5 separate regions of the Homo sapiens genome follow, and all the other regions are linked to region 3. The links are contacts of gene promoters, found by promoter capture Hi-C in human tissues and cell types (Jung and others, 2019). All regions are on one chromosome and are shown on one strand. Each heading gives the region's core, a stretch centred on a gene start or on the middle of the fragment in contact. The rest is flanking DNA. Distances are from core to core; before and after follow the strand shown.

Region 1 (5,464 bases), core at 1-2,500, 350 kb after region 3:
TCAAACACTCGTCTGAACTTCCTAACATTTGCTTATAACCTGGAGGCAGGAGAAAAAGTAGTGTTTTCTCAGGGATGGGGCTGAGGAGATAACCCAGAAGCCTTGAAGCACAGAGTTAGGACCATGGTGGATGCTGGAGGCTCTTCTGGCTTGCGTAGTCCTTCAACTACAGTACAACTACCCAAGTCAAACTATGAGTGAGTCTTGCCCAAAAAATAGAAAGGATGAATGAAACGTGACAAGTGCTTAAAGTACATTCCATCTGTAGAACAAATAGAAATGATCCCCCTTTGGTCACTTTAAAAAAAACATGGTGGCTCACGCCTGTAATCCCAGCACTTTGGGAGGCCGAGGTGGGCAAATCACCTGAGATCAGGAGTTCGAGACCAGCCTGACCAACATGGAGAAACCCCGTCTCTACTAAAAATACAAAATTAGCCAGGCATGGTGGCACACGCCTGTAATCCCAGCTACTCAGGAGGCTGAGGCAAGAGAATTGCTTGAACCCAGGGAGGCAGAGGTTGCAGTAAGCCAAGATCACGCCATTGCACTTCAGCCTGGGCAACAAGAGTGAAACTCCGTCTCAAAAAAACAAAAACCAACAAACAAAACCCCCAAACACCAAAACACCAAGACACATACATATACAGAAGACTGCAAAGTACTAAAATGTTAACAGTAGTTATTTCTGGATGATGGGATTATGGAAGTTTCTAAAATACTTCCTTCTCATTGCTAGTCTGTTTTCTGAATTTTCTAAAATGAACACATATTAGCTTTGTAGTAAGAAAAAAGTGTTTCTTTTTTTAAAAACGCCAAGTGGGAAAAACTATAGGCATTAGAAAAAAGAGAAATCATTAAGGATGGACGTAGACACTGAAGTTCCTTCCTTCCTTTAAAGGAAGAAGTTGATTCTCATTATTCAGTGTTTATGTTATAAAATCACAGTGGACAATGAATTAGTAAACCCTTGTTCCTGAGGGAAATAAAAGGTAGGTAGGTTCCTGCAAGCCTAAGGTCACAACATTTTCATCAAATGATCAATAGATACCTTGCTTTTATATGTGTTTCTGTTTAAGGACACCTCATTTGACATTATTTTTGATTCCTTAACATTGAACTCACAGTTACAACAGCAGTACAACTCATGCCGGAATGAAGCTTATCTAATATACACATTTTCTTCATAAGGCACATTACGGTCTTTCTGCACTCAGGAATACTAGACAGCACTTCAGCACTATGCTGTTTGCATTCTGAACAGCAAAATTAAGCCAAGCATGGTGGCATGTGCTTGTATTCCCAGCTACTTGGGAGGCTGAGGTGCGAGGATCAATTGAGCCCAGGAGTTTGAGACCAGTCAGGACGACACCACAAGACCTCCACTCAAAAAACCCAGCAAAATCACCAATTAAAAGCACAAAAATACAAAGGAAGTGGCACTAAATGACCATGAAAAGAACATTTGTTTACAATACGAGAACTGAAACAAGAAGGCAGAGCACTGTCTTGTTCAACCTCAGCTGAAAACACTGCAACAGCAGGGTGACTCAACTTTTTCACCACTCTGTGACTGTCTGCAAAAAGTGCCATGAGTAACAGAGCGAGACTCTGTCTCAAAAAAAAAAAAAAAAGTGCCATGAGTATTGATTTTGGGGTTACAAATTTTAATGAGTAGGTGAATTCACAAATATAGAGTCTGTGAATAACAAGGATTGACTGTATTTTACTAAATTATTTAAGGGCTAACCTTGCCTAAAACTCAAGCGATCAAAGCCCTATCCTTTGAGTGTCTAAAGTAATTTTTCACACAATCCCTGCCAGGAGATGCCTGAACATAAGGATAGTTCTCAACAGTGGCAAATGCCAACAGAGGCCCACCTCTACATTTATGCTAAAAGGAATACTCTACAAAGGCACAAGACTATGTTAGGGAGTCTTCAAACTTTCTGGTTATTCCTCAAACTGTACCTTCTACTCCTGCTGACCAAACCCAGATTCTCTCTCAATACAGGAAAACAAATTGTTGAAGGTTTTTACCCAACCATGCAGACAACAGTTATCGGAAAATAAAACAGGTCAATTCCTTAAAAAGATCTCAATCCTGCCTCTCCTGATAGTTAATCACACAATCAGAGTTTTGTAAAGGAAGAATGGAGGAAAAGATAAAAAAGCTTCTGTGCCAAAGAATCCCAGCATGCATGCCATGCGCCTACTCAGTGGGTGGGGGTCTTGTACGTCAGCAGCACACCATTCAGTGCCAAGGTTAAGGCATTCTGTTTTTCGGTATCTAGAGGGGGCACAGTTGCCAGAAAATTAAAATGGCTTTACATGTCCTGATTTAATGTCTGAGTTTAAATCCTAAACTACTGATAAAGATTAAAGAGAGGAACAGGGTCCCTTGGACCACCTTGCTGAGCTGGTTTTTTCCTAATGTAATTTGTACCACAGCAACCAGGAGAGAAAATCGTTCTTACCTGAATGAAATGAGTGACCATATGGACATAGGCCCCTGCAGCCGCCACAAACATACAAAGGGCAAAACTTGCATAGACCTTCTTCAGGTGCTGCTGCGTTGACGGGGTTCTAAGAAAAGAATGTGAATAAGAGCAATCAGTCCCAGATCAATCTCATATTTAAGCTAAGAAGAATCATTTCTCTCTTTCCCTTCCTGGGAATATGTAAAAGTTCTGTTACAAATAGTTTGAAATACTTTTAGGAAAGCATATTACAATAAAAAATAATATTTTGAAAATAGGTTAACAGAACCTTAAATGCTGAGGAAGACCAAATGCCCAAAATTATGAATAATCAGTACCCAAACTAGAATAAATGCCTTTCCAATAACCACACAGCAACGTGTAGAATTTGGACATTTTCATCAGGTCCTCTGGATTCTGGCCAAGTTAATTTGTTAGCTTATACACACAAAAGTTATAAATGCAGAAAAGGGACAAAGAGATATGAAAAGAAATGCAGTACAAAACCAGTCAAGGTCAAAACACTTACATATGAGAAAATTTTAAAAGCGCATCAAAGTTGATCTTTCGATCAAATATGTTCATGGTTCCAGAGTCCGTGCAGCAGTCTCCACTCTGCAGAATAAAGAAAGGTTAGAGTCATTAAGTCATACAGAATCACACGAACAGCTTATAAAAAAAAAAAAAAGCAACATGTAAGTTCAGAAAGATGAAAACTTGCCTAAAATTCTACAGCCCTAACACAACCATTTTTATTTTTATGTGTCCTACAATATATTTGCAATCATAGTCAACCATCTTAAAGACGACAGAGGAATTGAATGCATCTTCTTCTCCCTCAAACTATTTTGTTACTATCATCTGATTTCTATTCTTTCAGGTGATTTGCCACTTTAAAAGGCAGTAAGTTTATAAAAGAAATTCTCAATTAACAATCTAGTTAAAGGAACCTAGACATTGGCACATAAAGCAATTTTATGTCATTGTTTCAAGATGCTAAAGAATTCCCTTGGCTGGGCATAGTGGCTCACTGAGGCCTATAATCCCAGCACTTCTGAGAGGCTGAGGTGGGCGGATCACCTGAGGTCAGGAGTTCGAGACCAGCCTGGCCAACATGGTGAAACCCTGTCTCTACTAAAAATACAAAAATTAGCTGGGTGTGTTGGCACACACCTGTAATCCCAGCTACTCAGGAGCCTAAGACAGAAGAATTGCTTGAACCTGGGAGGCAGAGGCTGCAGTGAGCCAAGACACGCCACTGCACTCCAGCCTGGGCAACAGGGCAAGAGTCCATCTCAAAAAAAAAAAAAAAAAAAAAAATTATCTCACTAGCAGCACCTCAAAGATAAAAAACAAAACTTTGACTAGTCTTAACAAAACAAACAAAAACTATAAAGCTGGGTCTGGCATTAAGACTTGCATTTTAAATATATGCGTATCAAATTTTCTTAACCTAACACATTTAAGAACTGAACTGAAAAGGACTCACAATTTTAAAAAAAGAGAGGTTCCTACCTCCATAAAAAAGGAATTTATGCAGAAAGGAGGATTTTTTGGGGGGTATTTTTTTGACAGTTTCAGAACCTTTCCTACAGAAAGGTTAGAACAGTACAAAGAATTCCTGTACAACCTTCACCCAGATTTCCTAAATGCTAATATTTCACATTTGCTTCATCTTCTTTCTATATAGCAATATATAGACAGATGTAAAAATATTTTTTCCCTAACCATACAGACACAGTGCTCCTAAACACTTCAGTGTGTATATCCTGAAAGCAATGATCAAAATCAGGATATTAATACTAATGCAATACTATTTCTAATCTGCAGACCTTATTCAGATTTTTGCCAACTGTCCCAATGTCAAAAAGGGCATTTTTAAACTGAACTATATCCAGGTTAGATCATATCAACACCATAAAGTCAAGTTCTTAAGTTTTGCTCCCTCCCCTATTTCACATGCAATCCTAAGTAAACGTGTTCAATCTACAGTACTAAAGATCCAGTCAAGAACTTTCATCTCTTCTAAATATAAATCCTCCAAACTCCTATCAGGGCCATAATGCCCATCCATTTTAAATCTACCAGAAAAGGAGGGGCAGGGAGGAAGGGATTCAAACATAAAGTTGTGTGAAACGCCACCTACTGAATGAAGCACTCTAATCAGCACCCAGCCCAACACTCAGAACAATTCATCTAGGTAATAATAAAAGTTACAGTCCCCAAACAAATTTCCTAAGGAATCCTGGGCCAGTGGAAAGATATAAACATCATCTGCTTCCTGAGGCTCTCTCCCACAAATGAAACAATCACAATGGCTGGCTTGCTTTCTCTGGTTTCTTCTTTCCTTCTCTCATTAACATCACTACTCACCTCAGAACTTTTGTTAATTCTGTTCTTAAGGACAGATACAGTGAGAAGCTGCAGAACCTACTAAGGTTGTTGCTCTCTCCTCTGAGTCACACGGATCTGGGCCCTCTTGATCTAGATGGTGCAATTATTGCAGGTTGTTACAAGGCCAACCACAGCCTTCCATAACCAAGATGAATATGACTATGTCCTCTAGAGAGCACACTTACAGCATGGCAGAATTCAGCACCTGGAAAGTGTCTTTGTTTAAGGTTTCCCATTAACACCCCTAATGACATCCCTAGACAGCACTTACAATAATACTGAAGCAACTTTCAGAGCCAAGTTTCTCAGTATTCACAACAGCAATGCTAAAGAACCTCTTGCTTCCAATTACAAGAATTAAAGAAAGGTAAGGGATGGAGCGGGGTGGATCCTCAAACGCCCAGGGGATTCTAAGAAAGAGGCAATGCTCATGTAACCAGACCCTGCTTGGCGGAATCTGTTCGAGGGGAGAATGGCAGAAACTCCCCTTTCTCAGATACTTCTCTGACGTTTCCCAGGGGGTACTGACTGCCTCTTTCTGGTTCTCTCTTAACAACTGTTGATGGAAAAACCAAAACCATCAAAGGCTG
Region 2 (5,381 bases), core at 290-2,789, 280 kb before region 3:
CTGTACCAGATGTGGCTTCATTGCTTGAACAAATTAACACATTCCCTGGTTCCTGGTATGCCGCTATGATCTGGCAAATGATTATTTCTTCCAATCTGTCAATAAGGCCCACCAGAAGTAGTTTGCTTTTATCTGGGAAGGCCAGCGATACAGCTTCGGTCTTCTATCTCAGGAGTATATTAATTTGCCAGTTGGGTAGAATTTACCTGCAAAACCATCTGGCCCAAGGAAGTTTCTTTTTTTGAGATGGAGTTTTGCTCTTGTTGCCCAAGCTGGCGTGCAATGTCGCGATCTCAGCTCACTGCAACCTCCACCTCCCAGGTTCAAGCAATTCTACTGCCTCAGCCTCCCAAGTAGCTGGAATTACAGGCATGCACCACCATGCCCGGCTAATTTTGTATTTTTAGTAGAGACGGGGTTTCTCCATGTTGGTCAGGCTGGTCTCAAATTCCCGAACTCAGGTGATCCACCCACCTCGGCCTCCCAAAGTGCTGGGATTACAGGAGTGAGCCACAGTGCCCAGCCTATTTTTTTATTTTTAGTAGAGATAAGGTCTTGTTATTGTGCTCAAGCTAGTCTTTAACTCTTGAAGTCAAGTGTTCCTCCCATCTCAGCCTCCCAAAATGCTGAGATTACAGGCATGAGCCATCACACCTGATTTTTTTTTTCTTTTTTCTTTTTTTTAAATGACAGAGTCTCCCTCTGCTGTTGCCCAGGCTGGAGTGTAGTGGCACGATCTCGTGTCACTGCAACCTACGCTACGCCTCCCAGGCTCAAGTGATCCTCCCGCTTCGGACTTCCGAGTAGCTGGGACCTCAGGCATGCACCACGCCCAGCTAATTTTTGTATTTTTGGTAGAAATGGGGTTTCTCCATGTTGGCCAGGCTGGTCTCAAACTCCTGATCTCAAGTGATCTGCTCGCTTCGACCTCCCAAAGTGCTAAGATTACAGGCATGAGCCACTGTGCCCAGGCACTGTATTTTAAGAAATTAATTTTTCCTAGGGAGAAACTATTGCCCCTTCCTAGGTGAGGTCTGTGAATTGTTCTCATTAATCCTTTTAGGTAACTGTCAACTGTCACTTAGTTGACAGGATGAAAGGATACATCTTTTTTTTTTTTTTTTGAGACGGAGTTTCACTCTTGTTGCCCACACTGGAGTGCAATGGTGCATTCTCAGCTCACCGCAACCTCCGCCTCCCAGGTTCAAGCGATTCTCCTGCCTCAGCCTCCTAAGTAGCTGGAATTATGGGCATGTGCCACCACACCTGGCTGAATTTTGTATTTTTAGTAGAGAGGGGGGTTTCACTGTGTTGCCCAGGCTAGTCTCGAACTCCTGACCTCAGGGGATCCTCCCGCCTCTGCCTCCCAAAGTGTGCGATTACAGGTGTGAGCCACTGCGCCCGCCTGGCTGAAAGGATAAACCTTGACCCTGTTATTCCATTGGGATATTGTGAAATATAACAATTCTTAAAATCTTTGGAATCTCCAAAGTGATGTCTTTTTGTATGCTAATGATTGACAGCTAGCTTCAGGATGGGACTGGTCATTAGAAAGACAAAGCCCTGATTAGAGGGTTGGGACTTTCAACCCCACCCCCCAACCTTCAGGGGTGGGGAAAGCCGCTGAAGGTCAAGCTGCTTATCTACGGCCAATGGTTTAATCAACCATAACTATGTAATCAAACCTCCATACAAACCCAAAGGACAGGGTTTGGAGAGCTTACAGAGAGTTGAACACATGGAGGTTCCTGGAGAGTGGTGTGCCCAGAGAGAATATGAAAGTGATATAGGAGTTAAGAAGAAATCACGTAGGCAGATAGTGAGGGTATGGGAGTCCTTGGTAAGGCTTTTCTTTTTAATGAAAAGCAGCCCCAAATCATTTTCTAACAAAGAGCAGCCTGTAAAGTCGAGCTGCAGACACAGAGCAGCAAGCTGGGAGCTTGCAGGGGTGAATGCCAGCAGAAACTAGGGACTAGACATGTTCAAGAGGGCGATTCCATCTTTCCTTCTCTGCCAGCCTTGTGTACAGTAAGGAGGAGACAACGTGGTGCCGGCCAAGGAGAGTTCATTTGCATAGTAATATTAGGGTGAAGCAACCAGCCTTCCATATGCACTATGTAAACATCATATCTGATTGAACCAATCTGTGAGCCTTACATAAATCAGACACCAGCTCCTCAAGCCACACTATAAAATCTAGCACATCCACCACCAGCCGGTCTTTTCCTCTGGGAAGATCTCCCTCTCTTTATTGAGAGTGCTGTTTTTCTTTCTCTTTTCTTCTGCCTATTAAACCTCCACTCCTAAACTCCTAGTGTGTATTCGTGTCCTAAATTTTCCTGGTACCAGATGATGAACCCCAGGTATACAACAGAGACAATGTAGCTGCTTCAGAAGCTCCATTCCCCTTCCACAATACCTTGCCCTAGCATCTCTTCAATAAACCAGTTCTGTGAGCTGCCCCAGCAAATTAATCCAACCAAAAGAGGGAGTCTTAGGAATGCCAAATTGAAATTGATTGGTCAGAAGTTCTGGAGGCCTGGATTTGTGACTGGTGTCTGAGTGGGGGCAGTTTTGGGGACTGAGGCTTCGACCTATGGGATCTGACACTGTATCTAGGTAGATGGTGTCTGAATTGAAATAAAAGACACCCACCTGATGTCCATTGCAGAAATGGTTCCCTGCTTGGTGGTGGGGAGAATCTGCTCCTCCGACCCCACATTTGGTCTGATCATGGAAGTCTTCTGTGTTAATAAGTTGATAACTGTTTTGCTGAATAGAAAAAAATAGAATAGAAAAAAAAACTGAAAGTTTTTTCCAATATCCATCTGGGATGAAATCATAAGTTGAATTTTTTTTTTTTTTTTGAGACAGAGTCTCATTCTGCTGCCCAGGCTGGAGTGCAGTGGCACGATCTCGGCTCACTGCAACCTCTCCCTAACCCCCCCACCCCCAAACTGGGTTCATGCTATTCTCTTGCCTCAGCCTCCCAAGTAGCTGGGATTACAGGTGCGCACCATCATGCCTGGATAATTTTTGTATTTTTAGCAGAGACGGGGTTTCACCATGTTGGCCAGGCTGGTCTTGAACTCCTGACGTTAAGTGATCTGCCTGCCTCAGCCTCCCAAAGTGCTGGGATTACAGGCATGAGCCCGGCCAAAATGTTCTTTTTCTGTATTGAGTTGACCAAAACGGTTTATGTGTGGTGTACAACATTATGTTTTGATATATTTATACATTGCGGAATGGCTAGATCCAACTACTTAATGCATGCATTTCCTCACATATCTTTTTTGTTTGTTTCTTTGTTTGTTTGTTTTTTGAGACAGGATCTCACTCTGTCTCTCAGGCTGGAGTGCAATGGCATGATCTTGGCTCACTGCAACCTCCACCTCCCAGGTTCAAGCGATTCTCCTGCCTCCCTATAGCTGGGATTACAGATGGGTGCCACCAGGTTTGGCTAATTGTTGTATTTTTAGTGGAGACAGGGTTTCGCCATGTTGGCCAGGCTGATCTCGATCTCCTGACCTCAGGTGATCCACCCACCTTGGCCTCCCAAAGTGCTGGGATTACAGGCGTAAGCTACTATGCCTGGCCACCTCACATTTCTTTTTGTGGTGAGAACACTTAATATCTCCTCTCAGCAATCTTCAAGTATACAATGTATTGTTATTAACTATAGTTATCATGATGTATAATAAATCTCTTGAACTTATTTCTCCTGTCTAACTGAAAAATTGTATCCTTTGACTAACATCTCCACAATCTGCCCATCCCCAGCCTCTGCTAACCACTGTTCTACACTGTCTGCTTCTATGAGTTTGACTTCTTTTTTTTTTTTTGAGATGGAGTCTCGCTCTGTTGCCCAGGCTGGAGTGCAGTGGTGCGATCTCAACTCACTGCAAGCTCCACCTCCTGGGTTCAAGCAATTCTCCTGCCTCAGTCTCCCGAGTAGCTGGGACTACAGGCGCCTGCCACCACGCCTGGCTAAGTTTTTCTATTTTTAGTAGAGACGGGGTTTCACCATGTTAGCCCGGATGGTCTAGATCTCCTGAGACCTCGTGATCCACCCACCTCGGCCTCCCAAAGTGCTGGGGTTACAGGCTTGAGCCACCACGCCCGGCAAGTTTGACTTCTTTAGATTCCACATATGAGTGAAATCATGAAGAAGCCTTTTAGTTTGATGTAATACCATTTGTCTATTTTTGCTTTTGTTGCCTATACTTTTGGAACCATATACAAAAATCATTGTCTAGAACAATGTCATGGAACTTTTCCCCTGTTTCCTTCTAGTAGTTTTATACTTTCTTTTTTTTTTTTTTTTTTGAGACAGAGTCTTGCTCTGTCGCCCAGGCTGGAGTGCTATGGCGTAATCTCAGCTCACTGCAACCTCTGCCTCCCAGGTTCAAGCAATTCTCCTGCCTCAGCCTCCTGAGTAGCTGAGACTACAGGTGCGTACAACCATGCCCAGCTAATTTTTGTATATTTAGTAGAGACAAGGTTTCACTATGTTGGCCAGGCTGGTCTTGAACTCCTGACCTCATGATCCACCCACCTCGGCCTCCCAAAGTGCTGGGATTACAGGCATGAGCCACCACGCCAGGCCATAATTTCACATTTTATGTTTAAATCTAATCCAGGCTGGGCATGGTGGCTCATGTCTGTAATCCCAGCACTTTGGGAGGCCAAGGCGGGTGGATCACCTGAGGTCAGGAGGTTGACACCAGCCTAGCCAACATGGTGAAACTCCATCTCTACTAAAATACAAAAATTAGCTGGGCATAGAGGCAGGCACCTGAAATCCCAGCTACTTGGGAGGCTGAGGCAGGAGAATCACTTGAACCTGGGAGGCAGAGGTTGCAGTGAGCCAAGATCGCGCCAATGCACTCCAGCCTGGGCAATAGAGCAAGACTCAGTCTCAAAAAAAAACAAAAACTCTAATCCATTTTGAGTGGATTTTTGTATATGGTGTAAGTTTAGAGTCTAATTTCATTCTTCTGTACGTGGATATCCAGTTTTTCTAACACCATTTATTGAAGAGACTCTTCTTTCCACATTGTTTTTGGCATCTTTGCTGAAAATCAATCGACTGTGAAATGTGTGGATTTATTTCTGGGCCCTCTACTCTGTTCCATTGGTCTAATGTATCTGTTTTTATGCTAGTACCACACTGTTTTGATTATTATGGCTTTGTATTGAATTTTGAAATCAGGTACAGTGATGCCTCCTGCTTTGTTCTTTTTACTCAAGATTGCTTTGGATATTCAGGGTCTGTTGTGGCTCCATACATGTTTTAGTTTATTTATTTATTTTTGTTTAGAGACATGGTCTGGCTCTGTCACCCAGGCTATAGTGCAGTGGTGCAATAATAGCTCAATGAA
Region 3 (5,341 bases), core at 1,994-4,493:
TCTGTCTGGGTGTCAAGGATGTTTTGTCTCCCATTAGCCTGGGCATCTCCTTGTCCCCCTGGACCACCTCCTGGAGCCAGAGGGTGGGGAGTCCCACACGGGGCTAAAATGGGACAGGAGCAAGGGGGTCCACGGTCTGATGATGAATAATCAGCCGGCCTGAATGGCCCTGGCCTTGCTTCTGCAGCTCCTCCTATATGCATGGGACATGGTAGGAAAGGGGAACCACTGCTCAATAGTGAGAGCCTGGAGTACCTGCAGCCTTGCAGAGCTCAGCCAGACCTCCTTTGGGGCCTTCTCCTCACCCCATAGCTGCCTCTGTGCCCCTCTCACCTTTAAGGCTCCACAGATCTCTACTGTGTCCACCTCTTGCACCACTGTGATACGGAAGTTTGGTGTCTGCATCAGCTCTTTCAGGAGTTGTCCCTGGGCCGGGTCCTTGCAGCCTAAAGTGAGGAGGGGGCAAGGCTTTGAGGGAAGGACTCTTTTTAAAAAATATTTATTTTATAGAGATGGGAGTCTCTCTCTGTTGCCCAGGCTGGACTCAAACTCCTGGGCTTAAGCGATCCTCCCACCTCAGCCTCTTAAGTAGCTGGGACCACAGGTGTGCCACTGCACCAACTCTGAGGGAGGGCTCATCACTGTGTTTCCCTAAGCAGGCCCTGAAGCCCCTTCCCTGGGGGTGTCCCAGCCTCCTTCACCTCTGATGCTTGTATTTTCCTTTCTCTGCCTTATGGGAAAGAGATGGCTAAGTGGGGTTGGGGCAGTTTGGGGAGGGGATGCAACTAGATGCACTGTGTATGCAGGTGCCAGGGGGCTCTCACCAATGGTTGTCTCACAGAACTTCTCATCAGCCACCTCGCTGGCAATGTTGGCCCCCATCAGCACACTCATGGGGATGCCGAGGCGCTCCCCAATCACTTCCGAGATGAGCTTCAGCCCATTGGGGCCCTCGTCTACCCCCTGAGCACAGGATGGAGCTCAGGCCAGGTGCCCTTTGGGCCCACCTGCGGGCTTCCGCCCAGAAATTCTGTCCCTTCCAAATCCATTGCTCATCTGTGTCCCTCCCGACAGGTCCTGCCCCATTCCAACCCAGCTCAAGTTTGCTGTGAGGAGGCCAGACAGCATGTGACCAACTGTCCTGCCACATACCCTCAACCAGTCTACTTCTCCAAGGCAACGGGTCCCCTCCACATCCCTAGGCAACCCCGCCTGACTGCCCCAACAAACTGCCATTCAGTGACCAGTCACTGCTCCAAACCAGCTACTCTTCACACTTCTCAAACCAGCCCGCTTCTCATATCTCCCAGGCATTCCTTTATACCTCCGAAACTCCCCGAGAGGACCTCCAAACCAATCTCGTCTCCTCCCTTCAGCCTCCCTTCCAGTGACCCCCAGCACCTCACTGCTTTCCTAAGCCTCTCCAGAGCCAACTGCCTCTCTTTTCTCCAGCAAACTCTTGGCCTGCGTCTGCCATTTTCTGTTCTCCTTGCTTCACCCACCCTGAACCCCACAACAGTGAGCCGCACCCTCCCCCATCCACATGAAGGTGTCCCTGGCACCTTAATAAGAGATATGCCAGTGGCGTTTGCCTTCAGATGGCCCTTGAGCTGGTCACAGATCTTGCCGATGAACTGATGGGGCACCACAAAGATCAGGATGTCAGCATCCTCTGCAGCCTGGACCACATCTGGGACAGCCACCTGTGGGGGTGACCAAGTGCTCGCGGGCCTGGCAGACCTCCCCTAGCCCCTGTGGAACCCTATTCAGGAGATCTGGGAGCCAAAGAGTGAGGCTGGTAGGGGAGCAGGAAGGCTTGTTTGGGACTGAATCTAGAAGGACTGAACTTGGAGGAATAAGACACTCTACTCCCTCCCCCCAGCTACCACTCTGTCTCCCTCCAGCTGTCCTGGGCTCTTGAGGACTCCTGGAAACCTCATCCCAGCACTCTCCTATCCCTTGGCTGTGGGACAGTGCGGGAGGCCAAAAGCAGCCTGGGCTTGGCAAAAGAAAGAGCTCAAATAAGATTTCATCACCCAGCTCCTCAGGAACCCCAGCTGGGAAGGGGGAGCCCCAGCCTTTCTGCTCTCTTCCCTGCTTCCCCTTTCCAGGTGGGGAGAGCCACGTGGATTTGACCAAAGACCGTAAGTCCAAGGAGCAGCCTCCAAGTCGGCTACTCACTCAGTGAATGAGTAACAGGATTAGTGCCGGAGGCAGGCACTACTGGACCCCAAGTCTGGGAGCCCAGTCTTTGGCTGCCATGGAGACCAACTTGTTCTCCCATCCCTTCCCCACCCACCCGCCTGGGAGCCTGTGAGGGGAAAGCATAGGTTCTCCTCAGTCCTCAGGAAAGGGCCCAGAGCAGCCCTCCTGAGACCTTCCCAAGTCCTGCTGCACCTGAAGCGGCCCTCTCAGCAGGAGGCACCTGTTGAGTAAGGTCGGCTCCAACTCCTGGCCCTCCCTTCCTCTCCCTGTTCTTCGCAGGGTGTTGGGGCTCACCACATTTGGGGGCAACTTGTGCCCTGGCAGGTATTTGACATTCTCATGCTGCGTGTTGATGATCTCAGTCAGCTTTTTGCCTCCAATGTCTTCCTCAAATACCCACATGGTCACCCGTGGGTCAAACTGTGCCAGCTGGGCTGCATTGCCACCCACGATCTTGGCGATGGCTGAGCCCCTGGTGGGAGGGGGAGCACAGGAAAGTACAGGAGGAGGGAACAGTGGCAGGAGTTGGGGCAGCGCCCCACCTCAGGATCTCACAGCAGCCCCCCAGGCTGTTCACTCCTACCTACCTTCCTTATCACCTCCACTCCCATGACAAATAGTCCCCAGTGACCTGGCAGTAGAAAGGAGACTCAGTCTCCTCACCCTTTGCTACTAGAGAAGGGAGCCCCACTTCTCATCTTCCCACCCCCAAACTCAAGCGGCTCTTCACATAGAGAGCTCTGGAGACGCCTTCCCATGGTGAACAGGTGCAGCTGCCCAGGAGGGCGGGGGTCAGGAGAGGGCCGGGCACCGTCTGTCCTGTGCTGCTATGATAGAAGATAGCAGCAGGGGCTGAACAGGAACCTGAGGGCCTTTCCCACCCATTCTGCCTCCTACCCACCTCTGTCTTGGGGGGCCTACCCTTCCCCCATATCACTTGACAGAGCTGCTTACCAGTTCCCGGAGCCTACAATGCAGACTTTCTTGCTAGCCATGGTGCCGCGTCTCTGCCTGAGCCGGCTCAGTGCCACACTCCCTAGCTCCTCTGCCGGCTAGGAGCATTTAACTCCACCACACGTGGGTGCAGCCAAGCCCCGCCCTCCAGGGGTGGGTGGGGAGGCTGGCGCCCAGGGAGATAGAGAGTCTGGCAGAGCCAGGGAAAGGAGAGACAGGGGTACAGACAGGTGTGGAACAGGAATGGGGCAGAGACTAGGCCCAGCTTTTTCTCCTGGGCTCATCGGCTGACAGTGCTGGCAAGCTTCTTCCCTTGGCCCCAGCCCAGCTTCCCACCATGGTCTCATTTTGAGGTCTGCTAAGAAAATAGCCCAGATAAGGAGCAGGTGACTGCTCTCCCTTGCTCCTTTCTGTCCCCCAGCATGAAATAAATTGTATTTAGCTTCAGTAGCAGCTAGGGGAATGCTTTTCAGAGGTAGGCTCCTCCATGACCCCCTATCCCCCCGCCAACCCTGCCACATATCCTCACAGGACCCTGTTCCACAGTTCTGTCCTCCAGCAGGCCCACGCTAGCTCCACTGCAGGGCTGGGGTGGGGGATGTGGGCCCACTTCCCACCTCTAAAGATGAGGCCACATAAGAGGTAAGGGCCTGCTTTGAGGACAGCCCAGCTCAAAAAAGGATGAGAGACTCCAGGTGCCTCAAAAGACAAGATTGTCTTGGTCACCCACAGAGGTCATCTTGGGGACTCATCCATGGGCCTCTCAGATGATCCCCACCCAAAAATGTGTTCTAGGGAAGGTGGGAAAGGTTAAAGTTAGAGAGCTCTGAGAATTGCGGTACACAATTTTGTTGTAGACTCTGGGCTTAAGAGGACAGGAGAGAATAGGAGGCAGGCAGAGTGCACACTGTCCTTGAAAGGCTTTGAGCCTCCTTCAACTCCTCCTCTCAGGGGTTTCCAAGGTACTGCCCCAGGGGCTTCATCAGGTGAATGGCTAGTTTGCAGAGGCCAGAAAAGGGGAAGGCAGGCAGTACCCGGGGCAGCTGTGTCCGTGGGGCTTTGTGGTCTCAGATGCTGTGATTGGGGGTAAGTTTGGTGTATGTTTTTTGGGGAAGGGCGAGAATGGAAGGAGCACCCTCAGCAGTTCAGGGCTCTGCATCGCCCACGGCCATCTGTTTGTCTAAGACGAGGGAAGCTCTGGTTTCCAGGCTGATCTGGAGAGTGGAGCAAGAGGCTCCTAACACTGTGCACCTTGGCCTAGAGGGCAGACACCACTGTGTGCTCATGTGCTGACCTCCTGGCTTGGCAGACGGCTAGGTGGGTGTTGCCATCCCCCTGGGCTGTTGCTGGCCAGCAACTGGTAACAAGCACTGGGCTACAGGGGAGTCTGTGTGCAACCCATGGGTAGGAGTAAGCAGGCAGGAGGTCAAGACTGGGGAGAAATGGCTTTCTAAGTTCCGGGGACTGCCCAGGAAAAACCAACCATATTCTCCTTCCATGGCCAGTAATTTCCCATAGGGAAACGGACATGAAATCAGTAGTTGGCTGTTTTTCTTAGCACAATGTTATACCTAATACAGAAACAGCCTCCCACAGACCACTCCTTTATTGCACTGGCACTGAGATGAAGGCTCCAGTGCCAGGCTGCCAGCTGGGAGCACTGATTACGGGTGATGGAAGAGAAAGGATGCTTCTGTCCCTGGCACAAATGATGGGAGCCCCAAAGAATGGATGTTTATGCATAAAATAACCCCCTTGTTTTTGCCTAAATGCTTCCCTCTCTCATTTTGCCCCTACAATCATTTTAGATAGTGTGGAGACTAAGAATGTGCTCATTTACATGGGAATAAAGAGGGTGCAGAGATTCAGAATCGGCTCATCACAGGAAGTTATCTGTATCACTAGAGCTCTTTTCCCAAGAGCAAACTGTAGATTTGCTTGAAATTAATAATGGTTCATCAGCCATTCATTACACATGTAATTAGCCTGGGTAAAAACAGATGCCATTTCAATGTCCTTGACATCAATTTTCTCCACTCCTAGTTATCGGCCCAACCACTCCTCTCTGCTTTCCCTTCTCAAGTCTGATAAACCCCAAGTTCCGGAGTAGGAACAGTGGTTGGATTTTTTGGTGGGTTTGATTACATATATTGAACAGGCAATACTAGAATGTTCCCATCCA
Region 4 (5,323 bases), core at 2,674-5,173, 500 kb before region 3:
AAAGGGAGCTCCCAAATCCACTGGGTCTGCTCTGGATCACACAGTCAACAAAGACAGTCAGCTGCTGCTTCTGGTTCCTCTTTTCCTGGCAAAATTTTAAATAACTAGCTGGTGGTTACTATTTTTAAAGATTAAATAAAAACAACCCACGCCCCTCAATGCAGCCTCAGCAAAAGAATAAATGTTAAACGTTAATAACACTCTTAGGAATAGAGGCTCAAGGAAGGGTGGAGAAGCAACCAAAAAGAATAAAAATGATCTCGCAGCTATAAATTTGTAACAGAAAGCTGTCCAGGGCATTTCGGTAGTACAAGAGCTGATATCCTTTAGCAGGCAAGAAAGCACTTAAAATAGAGTGAAACAAAGAACTATGACAAACTGCCTAAGGATTCTTATAAATGACTTGCAATTTTATAAACACCTATCCGCCAATGTTTAGGAGATAAAACTTTTGACTTGGCTGATAATACAATCCTTTCTCTCTTTAATTTGTGTGTCTATTATCCCCCTAAAGATATTTACATCGGCCAAGCGCGGTGGCTCACGCCTGTAATCCCAGCACTTTAGGAGGCCAAGGTAGATGGGTCACAAGGTCAGGAGTTCAAGACCAGCCTGGCCAAGATGGTGGAACCCATCTCTACTAAAAATACAAAAAAATTAGCTGGAGGTGGTGGCAGGCTCCTGTAATCCCAGCTACTCAGGAGGCTGAGACAGAGAACTGCTTGAACGGAGGCAGAGGTTGCAGTGAGCCAAGATCACGCCACTGCACTCCAGCCTAGGCAACAGAGCGAGCCTCCATCTCAAAAAAAAAAAAAAAGGTTGGGCACAGTGGCTCATGCCTGTAATCCCAGCACTTTGGGAGGCTGAGGCGGGCAGATCACGAGGTCAGGTGATCAAGACCATCCTGGCTAACATGGTGAAACCCCATCTCTACTAAAAATACAAAAAAATTAGCCGGGCATGGCGGCGGGCGCCTGTATTCCCAGCTACTGGGGAGGCTGAGGTAGGAGAATGGCGTGAACCCGGGAGGTGGAGCTTGCAGTGAGCCGAGATGGCGCCACTGCACTCTAGCCTGGATGTACAGAGCAAGACTCTGTCTCCAAAAAAAAAAAGATATTTACATCTCCAATATCACTAAAGAAAATTTTACTTTCCTGAAGTTTCACTTGGAGGAGGGGGGTGAAACAACACATTCCTTATCCTAAAATAGCAAAGACAACAATGCAAGGAATAATACTTCAGAGTTCCAGCAGATATTTCCTGTATTTCACTCATTGTACTAATCACAATCAAAACTAGCAATTAAAAGGAAAAAAACACTACTCCTAGTAACAAAAAAACTCTACCCACCATTCTTTGCCTGCCATCACTCCCCAAACAAATATCACCACACATCTGAATATTATGAAAAAATAACATACTTCCAAGGCTATCAACATATGGAAATGTGATATTAGGCAGTCTAACCATTCCTTAGGGTGACAGTGATAGTAGTAATTTTAAAAATCATTATTCTAGAATAAAAGCTAGAAATAATCAAATGTTGGGTTTGGTCATTTATATTTAGGTGTTATAGCTGTATCTGCAGAATTCTTAAAAACTTTATTAAAATTCCTGCATTAAAAATACTTTGGCATTGTGAATTTGGAATATGATTTACTTACTTCCTTTATTAGTTATAACAAATGTTCTTGTAATGCAGTTTTCTCAGGATGAAGTTTTTGTTCAATTATGAACATGGTGTTTTAACAGAACATGAAACAGGACACATCATTATAAAAGCCAAGCGTAAAAGAAAAAAAGACAACCACAAGCAGTTTGTGTGCCAAGGGATTTGAAGAGAGATAAGTGGTCCATCCTATCTCTTCTTTTATCTTCCACAATAGGATGGTTAGCTGGGCAATCAACTACTCAGAAGACGATGACATTTCCCAGTCCCCTCATAGGTAGGTACGGTCAAATTACTAAGGTCTGGCCAATGTGATATCAACAGAAAGAATGTGTGCAACTTCCAGATCTTGCTCTTAAATGGAATGGGTGTATCTTCCCTTCTCTTTCTCCCTTCCCAATGGGTGAAATGGGATGTGGTAATCAGCTATATTGGACAAAGGGTGAAGAGCCAGACCAGTAGATGATGAAGGAACAGGGTAGAAGGGCCTGTTGCCCAATACCCTCATGAAGCAGAGTTGCTGTACTAGTTGAGACCATGGCATGACCTAGAAATAAACTTCTATCTTGTTTTAAGTACCTGTTATTTGGGGTCTTCACTACATGTACTTAAACCCATTGTCCAACAAATACAAAGCAAATGAGACAATTTTCAGTCAAGTGGCAACAAATAATTGCTGCTACTTGGTGTCTCCACCAGAACCATAAACCATGGTACTAAAACTTTTAAAAGCTAATTTAACTCTTATGTAGAAGATACAAATCCCTTATAAACTTTTCATTGTTAATCCTCTTGATAATTTTTTTTTTATTATTTTTTTTGAGACGGAGTGTTGCTCTGTCAGACAGGCTAGAGTGCAATGGCACAATCTCGGCTCACTGCAACCTCTGCCTCCATGATTCTCCTGCTTCAGCTTCCTGAGGAGCTGGAATTACAGGCACCCATCAGCACACCTGGCTAATTTTTGTATTTTTAGTAGAGATGGGGTTTCACCATATTGGCCAGGCTGGTCTCGAACTCCTGACCTCAGGTGATCCACCCGTCTCAGCCTCCCAAAGTGCTGGGATTACAGGCGTGAGCCACCATGCCCGGCTAATAAATATTTTTTGCACTGCTTCTGCTTACATAAATGAAATTTTGTTCTAGGCTGGATTCTTACAAAAGTAAATATGGTTTACTTCTTTGAAATCAGAGTATTGCAAAGAAACTTTTAAACTAATGTAAAATTATCTAGGAACACGCATTAAGAGTGTTGAACTAGTTGATCGATAGACTGTGCTAGTGTTACTATTTGTTTTCTTTTCTTTTCTTTCTTTTTTTTTTTTTTTGAGACTGAGTCTTGCTATGTCACCCAGGGTGAAGTGTAGTGGCACGAACTCAGCTCACTGCAACCTCTGCCTCCCAGGTTCAAGCAATTCTCCTGCCTCAGCCTCCAGAGTAGCTGGGACTACAGCCACGCACCACCACGTGGACCCAGCTATGTTTTGTATTTTCAGTAGAAACAGAGTTTCTCCATGTTGGCCAGGCTGCTCTCGAACTCCTGGCCTCATGTGATCCAACTACCTCAGCCTCCCAAAATGCTGGGATTACAGGTGTGACCCACCGCACCTAGTGTTACTATTTCTGATAGATGCTGTTTCCACGTAAGTTTTCAGCATAATCAAAATGGCTTTTCTAAATTGCATTTTTGTTTCTTTTTATTCTTGCAGTTAAAACAGCAACCATTTGATATGCTAAGACTTCCCCATCAAGATATTATCTAAATAAACTATCAGTTAAAAATAATTGGTGGACACAAATTCCAAATACTAATTTGCTAATTGTTGAAAGACTACAGCTTATTTGAAAATAAGCAAATTGTGGCCCGGTGCAGTGGCTCACACCTGTAATCCCAACATTTTGGGAGCCCAAGATGGGCGAATCACCAGAGGTCAGGAGTTTGACACCAGCCTGGCCAACATGGTAAAAACCTGTCTCTACAAAAAATACAAAATTAGCCGGGCGTAGTGGCGCACACCTGCAGTCCCAGCTACTCAGAAGGCTAAGGCAGGAGAATCACTTGAATCCAGGAGGCAGAGGTTGCAGTGAGCCGAGATCGTGCCACTGCACTCCAGCCTGGGTGACAGACTGAGACTCCATCTCAAAACAAAACAAACAAACAAATAAAAAACCCAGAAAACAAGCAAACTGTGTGAGGAATGATGTGTTTCCTCTGTTTTCAGACTAAGAGCTTGCTGTACTACAGCTATTAGTAATTTTAGGAAATTCTCCAAGCTTCAACCACTCTGCTTTTGCTGATTATATTCTATTACACTTCAGAGCAAGACTGTGTTTGAACAAAAACCCTGACCTTAGCCGAAAGATCTTAAAACCACTGAATATATAGCTGATAGAGCACTGGCCTTCTTTTCAGTAGTAGAAAGGGGATGCTGTCAAGAAAAGGAAAGGAAGAAAAATCACAGGAAAGACTTGATTTGATAAAAAATAAGTAATGAGATTATCTTCAAAATTTGTCTTAATGTTTAAAAATGTCTAGATCTTCCATTCCATATCTGTGTAATGCTGTGGAAGTCAGAAACATCTAGGTTCCAAACCTGGCTTATCATTTACTAGCTATGTCTCTTTGGATATGTTAGTTAAGTTTCCTGGGTCCTTGTTTTTTTCTATCTGTAAAATGGGGAAATCTGCACTTTTCTCATGGGACTGTTAACAGGATTAAGGAAGATAATCTACGCAAAGCTCCCAACAGAGTACTTGGTCCAAAGCAGACACTCAATAAATAAATGTTAGTTCCCCTCTCCACCCACTCCACCAACAACCATCAAAACCTCAAAAAAAAAAAAAAGAAGCCAAGCATGATGGCCCATGCCTGTAGTCCCAGCACTTTGGGAGGCAGAGGCAGGCAGATTGCTTGAGTCCAGGAGTTCTAGACTACCACTGCGGGCAACATAGTGAGACCTCATCTCTACAAAAAATACAAAAATTAGCAGGGTGTGATGACACACACTTGTCCTAGCTATTCAGGAGGCTGAGGTGACAGAATCATTTCAGCCCAGAAGGTCAAAGCTACAGTGAGCCAAGATAGTGCCACTGAACTTTAGCCCAGGTGACAGAATGAGACCTTGTCTCAAGAGGAAAAAAAAAAAAACAGAAAAAGAAGCCAGGCATTGTGGTATGAGCCTGTAGTCCCAGCTACTCAAGAGGCTGAAGTGGGACGATTGCTTGAACGCAAGAGTTGGAGACCAGCCTGGGCGAGACCATCAAAAAGATTAAATTAAATTAAAATCTCAGAAAAAAATTACAAATCAAAGGGTCCTGATATGAGTTGTATGCCTTTTTGGAATGAGTGAATTTTATGAAGATCAGCTAAAAACCACCTCCTTTGAAGGTGAGAAAAATTTGCACACCCATGTTCATAGCATCATTATTGTAAATGAAAAGTAAAAACAACTCAAATGTCCATCAACTGATGAATGGATAAATAAAACATGGTATATCCTCGCAATATTATCCAGCAATAAAACAAATGAAGAGCTAAGAGTGGTGGCTCATGCTGGTAATCCTAGCACTTTGGGAAGTCAAGGTAGGAGGACTAATTGAGGTCCAGGAGTTCCAGACCAGCTTGGGCAACATAGTGAGACCTCATCTCTACAA
Region 5 (5,157 bases), core at 1,505-4,004, 300 kb after region 3:
TAGAAAAATGACTCCAACTTTTTGGTCTGAGGACCCTTCTATACGCTTAAAACTTGAGGACCCCGAAGAGCTTTTGTTTATAAATGTTATACTTACAGTTATTTAATTAATTTGTTTAAAAATAGCAATAAACCCATCACATGTTAACATATTTTATTTAAAAATTTAATTGTATATGTTCCAAAAACACAAATAATAATAAGTCATTGTTCTCTATTTTTGCAAATTTCTTCTGTCTGACTTAATAGAAGGAAGCTGGCTTCTCCTGTCTGCTTCGGTATTCAATCTTTTGCGGTATCACACAGCATAGTATCTGGAAAATGCCACTGTACACTCAGGAGAGAATGAGAGTAATAAAGGCAGATAGTGTCTTAGTAGTAGTATTAGGAAAACAGCTTTGACCTTACAGACCCCTGGAGAGGGCCACAGGGTGCCTAGGCCCCACTGTGGGAACCACTGTGGCAGAACAACAACCACTTGGCGTGAAGAAACTCATCTCGGGGAGACGGAATGATTTGCCTAGTCACACAGCACATAAGTTAATTGCAGAGTTCGAACTGGACTCCATGCCTAGACTCTTCTGCCTTCCGGTCTAAGGCTGTTTCCAGTACCCTCGGCTGGGCTAGGACGGCCTGGGCTGGACTTTTGGGAGTGGGGCCTGGGCCACTTGGCTGCAGAGCCCCTGGTGTGTGGTCCTATAAATAAACCCATTGTGTCGGCACCCCTTCCCTCTCCCCACCCCCTTCCCTCCCCCCACCCCCGGCAGCTGCTAGTTTTGTTACTGGGTTATGCTGTGGACAGGGAGCAGGAGGGCTCTGAGGGAGGGGAGATGAGGGATGTTGAAATCTGGAGGCCTTTGGGGCTTATAACACGACTGCCCTTCCTTCTTCCCTTCCTGGAAGGGCCGAGGACCTATCCTGCAGCTGGTTTGGAAGAACTCACACCATGGTGGTTGAGGTGCTTGGAGTGCCTGTGAAACGGAAGTTGGGGGGATGTAGGGGGCCCCTTCCAAGACAGATGCCTCTCAGAAGGGCTATTGTGTCTCCAGTACCAGTTGTCAGGAGGAGGGAAGGAAATTCTTGTCTGCCCTCTTACCCTGAATGGGGAGGAGACCAGTTGGAATTCTCAGGGCTGAAAGATGCTTTGGGTCAGGGATTAAGTGGCCCCTTTCAGGCTAGAAGTGCCCTGGGAGCCAGGCCTCAGTCCTCCTATCCCTCCCCACACTCCTCAGCAGCCCAGGGCTGATCTTGGCTGGAAAGGGTGTTTGCTGTGGGGACAGAAGTTGCTGTTTACAAGTGGATTCTTGGGTGTGACTGGTAAAAGGGCTGGGAGGGTAAGAGGGATTCCAGAAAGCAGCTGGGGAGGGTGCGGAGGGAAGCGGTTGGTGTTACGGGTGATTCTGTGATTAAGTGAGCTCTCCATCTCTGCCTTCCTACAGCTGCCCACCCTCCCCCACTCCTGGTCCCTGGCTTCTCTCCCTAGAGGACTCTGGGGGGAACAGCTGGTGAATGAGGGGCTCACCAGGGGCCAGGAGGCCTTGGCTAAGGGCCGGGGTGAGGGAATGAGGACAGGCTTGCTGCCGCCTGCCTCTCCAGCCCCTTCCTCCCATGCCTGGTCTCTGTTCAGGGAGGGGTCTTGCCTGTGCCCTGCTGGAGAGGAGGTAGGAGCCACAGACCCCTTCTGGTCTGGCTAACTGAAAGGCCAGGACAGTAAGATCTCTTTGGAGGCCCTGAAAGCCCCTGTCCCCTCCTGGCTTTAAGGGGGAAGGGAGAGCTGGGGCCCTCCGTGACTGACTTGGCTGAAGAGATGGTGGTCGCCCAGGTTACCCAGAGACCCCTGAGCAAGTTTCCTCCTTCCTCGGCCCTGGCTGCCTGAAAACTGGCCCCCTCCCCACACCCTCTGAAGGACGAGCCAGAGAGGACTCCGCTCTTCTCCCCCCTCCTTCTCTCCCTCCCCCTGCACTGAGGTCACCTCCCTCAGAATCAGGCCTTTGTGGATGGCAATTCCGGCGGGAGAAGCCTCCAGTTCAAGTTAGAGTTCCCAGACCCTGCCTGGCCGGCACTGTGTGTCCAGACCCAGCGTCCCAGACGTGTTGGGGCCACCAGAGGAATGTCTGAAACCAGAGCCATTCCAAAAACCCGAAGCCTGGGGTTTTCCCTGCCCCAGGTCGGGCTGAGCTCATGGCTGTGAGCAGGAGCTGTGGGTCCTGAGGGAGGAGGCGGTGCTCAGCCCCTGGGGAGGCAGCAGGGACCACCACTGCGAAGCCTGCCTGGGCAGGCATCCCCCATGAGAGGCAGGCAGAAAGCCCAGACTCCAGAGGGCCACATTCCTGACTTGGCTTCGATTTGGAGCTGGTGGTGGTGGTCTCTCTCTGGATCTTGACCTTCCCTAGAGAAGGGTAAGGACGCAGGAAGTTTTCTTTAGAAATCTTGAACTCAGACTCTGGGCCGACTCTCATGGCCCGTGCTCCTCCCCACCACCAAGCTTTCCTGCAGGTCTCTTCCCCGTGACAGCTTCCTGCCCTCCACTGTGACGGCCCTGCAGATGCAGAGGAGGCCCCCTCATCCTGGGCTGACCCCAGACCCCCTCGCTGTGAGGCCAGAAAGTATTTCTCCTGAAGAGGGGCTGAGTCCTAGCCCCACTCCAGCTGGGGCACTCTGAGAAGAAGAACTGTGACCACTGGCTGGCTCATAAATCGGAGGGTCTCCCCCATTCTCAGTGGAACTCGGGCCTCCTGGCCTGGGATTCACAGGGGCTCAGCTGTGGATCGGGGCCATGCCTGGCTTTGTGTGGAGTGTGTGGGGTCTCCATGCTCCTCAACACAGAAAACCACTGCGTGCACACATAGAGAGTCCGCAGCCAGTCCTCACAGCCTGGCCTTGCTCTTAACCTGGATGCTTTTTTATTATTTTGGGAAAAGATACTCTACATTGTTTCGTTGTTGCTTTCTTGTGAAGAACACAAATCTTAGGGTTTCCCGGTCCTTAGCGTTATCCTTTTCCAGACCCCGAATGCTGCCTTCTTCATCCCATTCCTTTCCCTCACCCTCCCAACTTTTTTCTCTTCCTCCACAGCATACCTCAGCCACACCCTAGCCCCTCTGATGGTGAGGGGATTGAGGGACACGCTGGGGACCGATGGGCAGGTTGCTGCAGGCAGTGGGAGGACAGTGGCCCAGAGACCAGAGTTGTGGGTGAGGGTGGCACTGGTCAGATGCTGGAGGTGACCTGAGACATTCTGGGTTTCACCCCATTTGAGTGTGGGAAGGAAGATAATTCTTAAATATTTTTCATTTTTTTTCCAGGCCTGTATATTTCTAAGTCTATCAAACGTGATAATGTTATGAGCAAACCAAGTTAAATATGATACATTTTTATGATGTTAAAATAAAAAACTTCAGATTATTATACAGTATTAACAATAAGCATTAGAGGCCAGGCACAGTGACTCGTGCCTCTCATCCCAGCCACTTGGGAGGCTAAGGCAGGAGATCACTTGAGCCCAGGAGGCCAAGGATGCAGTGAGCTATGAACGTGCCACTGAACTCCAGCCTGGGCAGTGAGGTGAGACCCTGTCTCTTTAAAAAATAAAAAAATCAGTATTAAACAGGTCTTCCTTTTCCTCCAAGTGTTTTCAGAAGTCCCCTTCCCACTGTTGTGTACACACACACACACACACACACACACACGAAGAAGCATTCTCTCTTTTCACTGTAATCCCAGCCCCCAAACATCCAGCTGCTTCTCTTTCTGGGGTATAGAAGAGAAGAGGGAAGGCAAGGCTGGCCCTGGGGCTGGAGGGCCGGCTGGGAGGAGTTGGAGAGGAGGCCTCTGAGGGCAGGGTGGGCAGAGCAGCATTCTGAGATCTTCAGGTGCCCCTATAGCGGAGACCCCTGGGTAAGGGCCCTGGGACTCGGAGTCGGCCTCTGTGTGAACGGACAAGGTAGCAGCAGGCTCCACAACAACCCCATAGCTTTGTACTGTGCCTCTGTCAGCAGGTGATGATATGAAAAGTCTCCATTTATGGAATTCACGCCAGACACTCTACATATATTATCTCATTTTGTCCTCCAACAACCCTTTGGGCTAAGTGTTCTTATCCCTGTTTTACAAGTGAGAACAAGAGAAAAGAGATTCTTTAGTGTCAGATTTCTAGCCCAAGTTTCTAGCCTCCAGGGAGCCTTAGGGCTGTACGGAGCTTAAATGTCTGTTTTACTGTGGAGCTTACAGTGAAGCTTGGGTGTGTGCAGAGGAGTGGGAAAATCTAGGCCTGTCTGGTGTGCTTTGTGAAGTAGTCATGTGACTTGGGCAATATCCTCTGCCCCAGAGCCTGCCTCCTCCCGCAGGCGGGTGCTCCCCTTCCAGGGTTGTTAGGAGAACTGGATGGGATGGTGTGGAAGAAAGCGCCTGTGCTATTCATCACACTGGGTAAACACAGTGTGTGCAAGTGTAACTTTCTGTTCCTCGGTTTCCTCATCTGAAACACAGGCACTGATAATAGCATTTAACATTGTTGTGGTTAACTGTTGAGCACGAGGCAAGACAATGTATGTTGTAGAACCGGGTTGTAAAGTACCAGGTGTGACTTTTCAGTCTCCTCTGTTGTCTGATGATTCCTGGCTGAGAGATGGGGACCTTTGCACTGGCTCTTTCTGCTGTCCCAAATGCTTTCCCATTCCAGGATTTCATCTGGACTTCATTCAGGTCTCTGCTTAATTGTCATCTCTCAGTGCCTTATCACAACCCAACGCTGTACATTGTCGGCCTCGTCCAATAGAGTGGAAGCATCATAGCGGCTGGGCTGTCTCTGGCTGTTCGTCCCGTGTCCCAGTGCCTGGCACATAGCAGGAGCCCAGTAAGTGCGTGGCTGACGTCTTTTTTTTTTTCTCCACAGGCAAGGTGACCGTTCTGGATGCTAGAGTGAGTGTGCCCACCTGCGTAAGGGGGCAGAGACAGGTGAGGGGCTTTGGGGCCTGTGCATGCTGGGGGTGGGAGAGGCACCCCTGGGCTCCACTGTGGAGGATAAGGAAGCAAGCACTCAGATGGCTCGATGGTGAGCTGCTGAGGACACCTCTCTCCTATAGTCCAAAAGCTCCAAGCCTTTTTATTTTTGTTTTGAAACGGTCTTGCTTTGTTGCCCAGGCTTGAGCACAGTGGC

What was found. Contacts are between HindIII fragments. The study calls those that stand out against the background at their distance.
Region 1: a fragment that was not itself captured here is called in contact with the fragment with the promoter of GPD1 in region 3 in 2 of the 25 tissues and cell types used here (IMR-90 fibroblasts and pancreas).
Region 2: a contact is called between a fragment that was not itself captured here and the fragment with the promoter of GPD1 in region 3, in 4 of the 25 tissues and cell types used here (IMR-90 fibroblasts, adrenal gland, mesenchymal stem cells and 1 more).
Region 4: a contact is called between a fragment that was not itself captured here and the fragment with the promoter of GPD1 in region 3, in 1 of the 25 tissues and cell types used here (dorsolateral prefrontal cortex).
Region 5: a contact is called between a fragment that was not itself captured here and the fragment with the promoter of GPD1 in region 3, in 1 of the 25 tissues and cell types used here (pancreas).

What each region holds. Positions count from the first base shown.
Region 1 is chr12:49,750,095-49,755,558 of GRCh38, reverse strand. It overlaps TMBIM6 (transmembrane BAX inhibitor motif containing 6), which reads right to left. Exons shown (of 10, transcript NM_003217.3): 2 at 3,010-3,095; 3 at 2,478-2,586. The coding sequence starts at 3,065. Among named protein-coding and RNA genes, the nearest start is that of TMBIM6, 11 kb to the right of the region's middle. RefSeq lists an enhancer at 1,619-1,708. The HindIII fragment of the contact is 5,198 bases long and covers 1-3,849 here.
Region 2 is chr12:50,384,363-50,389,743 of GRCh38, reverse strand. All of the region lies in intron 1 of FAM186A (family with sequence similarity 186 member A), which reads left to right. Among named protein-coding and RNA genes, the nearest start is that of FAM186A, 9.6 kb to the left of the region's middle. The HindIII fragment of the contact is 5,559 bases long and covers 1-4,318 here.
Region 3 is chr12:50,101,910-50,107,250 of GRCh38, reverse strand. GPD1 (glycerol-3-phosphate dehydrogenase 1) reads right to left here and starts at 3,243. Exons shown (of 8, transcript NM_005276.4): 1 at 3,160-3,243; 2 at 2,500-2,677; 3 at 1,563-1,703; 4 at 825-963; 5 at 334-446. The coding sequence starts at 3,200. RefSeq lists an enhancer at 4,184-4,233. The HindIII fragment of the contact is 8,009 bases long and covers 1-5,315 here.
Region 4 is chr12:50,606,300-50,611,622 of GRCh38, reverse strand. All of the region lies in intron 1 of DIP2B (disco interacting protein 2 homolog B), which reads right to left. Among named protein-coding and RNA genes, the nearest start is that of DIP2B, 100 kb to the right of the region's middle. RefSeq lists an enhancer at 1-127. The HindIII fragment of the contact is 7,225 bases long and covers 311-5,323 here.
Region 5 is chr12:49,805,778-49,810,934 of GRCh38, reverse strand. NCKAP5L (NCK associated protein 5 like) reads left to right here. Exons shown (of 13, transcript NM_001037806.4): 2 at 4,894-4,955. Among named protein-coding and RNA genes, the nearest start is that of NCKAP5L, 20 kb to the left of the region's middle. The HindIII fragment of the contact is 4,128 bases long and covers 691-4,818 here.